Regions from separate parts of the Homo sapiens genome. Here region 2 is linked to region 1. Evidence: promoter capture Hi-C in 16 types of primary human blood cells and fetal thymus (Javierre and others, 2016). All regions are on one chromosome and are shown on one strand. Each heading gives the region's core, a stretch centred on a gene start or on the middle of the fragment in contact. The rest is flanking DNA. Distances are from core to core; before and after follow the strand shown.

Evidence for each region. The method cuts DNA at HindIII sites, captures the fragments that hold promoters and counts their contacts. A CHiCAGO score of 5 or more calls a contact.
Region 2: a fragment that was not itself captured here is called in contact with the fragment with the promoter of NRIR in region 1 in 1 of 17 cell types (M0 macrophages); the score reaches 5.5 in M0 macrophages.

What each region holds. Positions count from the first base shown.
Region 1 is chr2:6,839,161-6,841,758 of GRCh38, forward strand. NRIR (negative regulator of interferon response) reads right to left here and starts at 1,304. Exons shown (of 4, transcript NR_126359.1): 1 at 1,131-1,304. It also overlaps a transcript of CMPK2 not described here. The HindIII fragment of the contact is 12,024 bases long and covers 1-2,598 here.
Region 2 is chr2:4,137,694-4,140,291 of GRCh38, forward strand. The region is part of intron 1 of LOC107985841 (a long non-coding RNA gene); the gene reads right to left. Among named protein-coding and RNA genes, the nearest start is that of LINC01304, 160 kb to the left of the region's middle. The HindIII fragment of the contact is 4,649 bases long and covers 1-2,598 here.

The sequences.
Region 1 (2,598 bases), core at 54-2,553:
CTAAGTTTAGTCCAGGCCTTATAAGGTTGCCTTCCCTACATCTAATTCAAGCATCTTTAGAATAAGGATATCCATACTTAGTATAGTCATCCACAGTATTGTTTGGAACTTTACATGCTGGGAGGGAAGAATCTGTTTGGCAAATATAGTTTTGAAAGATCAGAGACGCAATATGTTCCAGCCAGTATCTTAGACAACCCTCCTTACAGCGGCTATTGGCCCAGACATCCCCTGTTCATTCACAAATCTGCAGATCACTGTCATTATCAAATATCATACAAGGGTCCAGGATTCCATGTGTGGGCATGTTTGGGAAGGACCATGTGCTATTTATTACCTGATAATAAGGTTGGCGAGGGGTGGCATTTCTGCCCGGGGTAGACATTCCCATTGGGAACTCCACCTGGGAGGTCTGGCTAGATTGTTAAAATTTTTCCACAGTCTCTCCCAATGTTTGGTGTCACCCTTGTTCCTTCTTAGTCTCCAGATCTCTGTGCTCTCAGCAATTACAAGCATACTGTTGCAATTATTTAAGGTTTCCCGAGTATGGTCCTTTTCCTTTACTCTTAAAGCAGAGACAGGCATTGGCTATCATTCTATCAACTTCACCTAGTCTAAGGGTGTGAGTTTTACCATCAGGAGGTGTGTCTTTCTGGGTGGAGTTAAAAATGCTCCCATACCATGTTCCCTTTATACCTATTAGGTCCTTAATGATTTAAGGTAAAGCCATCAGAGGGAAACCCTAAGATAGTGAGTTCTGAATCATCAAAGAGTCCATTGGTGTTATTAAACTGAGTAAATTGTTCAGGGCAAACCCAGTAATCAGTCTTGTTGTAGAGATCGGTAATATCTGATATTGTAGGAGCCAAAGAATGTGAGGCATTGCTACATCTAACAGTGAATGCTAGTAAACTTGATAGTAACAAAATCTTCATGTTTATCTCTTGCCTGTGACTACTATCCCTGCTATATGAATAATAACTAAGCAAAAGATTATGGCAATTGAGACTCTTTTCCCAATATTCCACTTAGAAGGTGCCACAGTATGCAGTCCTACTGCAAAGAGCAAGGTGAGTACAACAATTCCCATATGTGTGAAGTAATAAAGTTCCACTTTAAATCTTACTCACCGAGATATATAATTTCTTCGTGGGGGTGGTTTATGAGGTTATGAATGGAATCCCATGGATAATCAAAATCTCCCTGTAAGTATGTGACAAAGAGAAGTTCTAATATCTAACAGCAAATCTCAAGAGGAAAGGTAGAAATGACTTTAGTATCTGGTAAGGAAGGGTGGGATTGAACTGAACAGAGAGTTCCCACTCATTTACTTATCTTTTGGATTTTCAGTTTGAAATCCCCAGACTTTTCACACTGATATCTGAGATGTTCTTCTGGGATGTCAGGGGTCATTCCAGGCCTTGACTCGAGTGTGATGAATCCAAGATTCCAGTCCCACAAACTTCACTGCCGAGCAGGTGGAGAGAAGGATGGTATAAGGTTCCTCCCAGCTGGGACCTAGAGAGGGGAAAAGAGAGGAAAAATCCTTCACCAGTACCAAGTCTCCTTGGTAGAACAGAGGTGGCCCTAGTTCTTGGGGTTGGAATTCTGATAACTGTTTTAATTCCTGCTAGAACTGGGCCAGGGAGGTTACATGTTTAACCAATTCAGAAGTTCTCTGATGTAATATAAAATCATTGGTAAGGAAAGGCCGTCCATATACCATTTCAAAAGGGTGAAGGAACACCCCTTCAACCCCAAATTTGAAGGGGTGCTCCTCACCTGCACTAAGGCTATAGGAAGATAAGCAGTTTAGAGGAGGTGAGTTTCTTGAGACCACTTCCTGAGGTGTCTCTTAATGATATCATTTGTTTTCTCCACCTTCCCTGAAGACTGCAGTCTTCAAGCACAATGAAGATGGTATTGTATGCTCAGTGCTTTTGAGACCCCTTGGGTAACAGCTGCCTTAAATGAGGGGCCATTGTCACTTTGGAGGTATTTAGGGAGTCCAAAACGAGGAATTATTTCATTGACTAATGCTTTTATCACCTTAGAGGACTTTCTGTTTGACATAGAAATGCCTCTACCCAGCTAGTGAAGGCATCCACCCACAACAAGAGGTGCTGAATTCCCCTTATCTTTGGAAAATGGGTAAAATCCATTTGCCAGTCCTCCCCTGGGCAGTTTCCCATTCTTTGTGTTGCTGGGGATGGGGAGATGCCATTTGTTGAGGGGATTGTTTTTGAGGCAGATCTTATAAGCATTAACAATTTGTTTGACTGTTTTTGGTAGATATTTACCTGAGAACAACCTCTGGGCTATTTGATGAGTTTTATTCTTTCCCAAGTGAAAAGTTTGGTGAAGGATCTTAAGAACTTTCCACTGACTGGAGACTGACAAATAACATTTGCCATCCTCTGATTGTAACCATCCTGAGGGCTGAAAAGTGTATCCTCGAGAGGTGGCCCATTCTATCTCTGCAGGAGAATACTGAGGCTTTATTTCCCTTATGGAGCCCTCCCAAATTAGACAGCCTTCAAGTGTGCTGGGACTTTGGGGTCTTCTTACTGCTGACTTAGCTGTTTGGTCTGCTAGCCT
Region 2 (2,598 bases), core at 38-2,537, 2.7 Mb before region 1:
GGAAGGTGAATTTTCTAGGAATTAATAATAATTCGTCCATTCATTTGTCCATTCAGGCCCCTCTGACCCTGCTCTAATTTTTGCACACAGCACTTTTCATCTGGTAACATGATGTGTGACTTTGCTATTATGGCTATTGTCAGTCTTTCCCCAAGTAGTGACCTGAGTTTCTTTCCTTCTCTGGTTTTATTAAGGCAGTATCTGGCACGTAGAAGGAATTCAGAAATACTGAATGAAGGAGCACCTGTTACGTACCTAGCATTGAGCAAGGAGCTAGCAATACAGAATAGAGGTATGACCTTCAGGTTCCCTACAGTAGTAGGGGCATCAAATAAACATATAAATCTAAATAATGTATGTATAACTATACATATATATAGTTTTGCATATATATAGTACTACTATATTTATATGTACATAATATATAGTATATATAATACTATATGTATAGTACTATCAAGTACAAGGGTATGGACAGATTCACTGGGGTCAGTAATACTATAAAGTACAAGGGTATGGACAGATACACTGGGGTCAGACTGATGCAGTTGCAAGTCTGAATCCCAGCTCTGACACTTAGTGTCTGATACTAGCTGGGTAAACATAGTTACATTGCTTAAGCAGCTTAAAACTCAGGCACCATATCTGTCAGATGAGTTAGTAATCTCAACTTTGTGGGGCTTGTGTGAGAAACAAGGAATAAGCAATATAAAATTAAGACAAGGAATAAAAGCATTAATTACGACTCTAAGAAAGTTAAAAGCCCCAAGGTAGAGAGTGCTATCAGCTGACTGACGAAGGGACCTGTTGGCCAAGTCTTGTGCCCCCATACCTAATGCCCACTTTTGGCCATGTGTGCTTCCTTTCTCTGGCCTTAGGGCTTCTCTAAATGGCTCCTATTAGAGGAAGCAACATTTTATTGATTGATTATAAAGAGAAGTGGAAATAGGATCTATTTGTATCTGCTATGATATGAATGTTTGTGTCTCCCTAGACTCATAAGTTGAAACCTAATTTCCAATGCATTAGTATTAAGAAGTAGAACCTTTAGGTTGGGGCCTTCCTGACTGGGATTAGTGCCCTTATATAAGAGGCCCTGGGGAGCCTGTTTGTCCTCCTACCATGAGAAGACATAGTGAGAGGGTGTTATCTGTTAACCAGAAACTGGATCCTCACCAGACATTTACTTTGCTGGTGGCTTGATCCTGAACTTCTCAGCCTTCTCAGATCCTGAACTTCTCAGCCTTATAAACAACAAATTTCTGTTGTTTATAAGTCACCTTGTCTAAGGTATTTTGTTATGGTAGCCCTAATGGACTTAGACAACATCTTTAAGGATGTGCATTTGGTAGAAGAGTGAATTTCAAAGTATAGTACCTAGGGGCTGGGTGTGGTGGCTTGTGCCTGTAATCCCAGAACTCTGGGAGGCTGAGACAGGCAGATCACCAGAGGTCAGGAGTTTAAGACCAGCCTGGCCAGCATGGTGAAACCCTATCTCTACTAAAAATGCAAAAATTAGCGGGACATAGTGGTGAGTGCCTGTAATCCCAGCTACTCAGGAGGCTGAGGCAGGAGAATCACTTGAACCTGGGAGGTGGAGGCTGCAGTGAGCCAAGATCCTGCCACTGCATGCTGGCCTGGGCGATAGAGTGAGACTCTGTTTCAAAAACAACAACAGTAACAACAAAGTATAGTATGTAGGACAACGGCATCTGCATGACCTTAAAATTGGCTAGAAACTTGCATTCTCAAGTTCTACCCCAGACCCACTCAACCAGAACCCTGGACGTGGGTCGCTGTGTTTGAACAGCCCTCCAGTGGATGCTGATGCTTGCTCAAGTGTGAGATCCACTGCCCTGGAGCACTTGGGGAATCTCGCATACCTCTCAAGTGTTCCAACCATTGACCATCGTCAGCCATTGGAAGATGCAACTGGAGTGTATGATACCTTTATACAGTTACTATGTCAGTGTTATTTCCAGCAAACTTCCACACAGTGCCTAGAAACAATGCTTTATGCCCAGTTGACAGAATTATTATCAGTTTAATCTCTAAAGTCTTTCACTTTTGTTTTATGTTTTAAAATGATTCATTGCATTTTTAGATCTTGGTATTATGCAAACACTGGTTTAAATGATCTGAGAGAGAAAGTTCACAATGATATTTGCTGCCAGTATAGCATATTAGGTGGTCAAAGTGTTCGGTAAATATTAGCTCTGGTTTCACCACATGCCTGTCAGGTTGGTGCTGTTTCTAAACCAGTGAACTGGAGTTTAAGGCTGTTCCATCTTTATGGGAAGTTGATATTTCAACAAATAAATGACAAGAATGAGGGGGATGAGGTTTGAGTCTAGTGGGGTTCTGCTGCTGATTGGTCATTAATTATATTTATGTTATTGTATCTTTACCCAGAGGCTGCCATGAAGAACACATTGATTTTTAAATTCAAGATAAAAATAAATGACTTATGGCCAAGGCAGTTTTCACTTTGATTTTTTAAACTGCAAATGCAGTTTAGGAGAAATTTGATCTATCTGCTTCTGATTCACTCACACTGGAATCATTCAGGTGTTGTTTGGTGAGTTCTATTTGATGTCC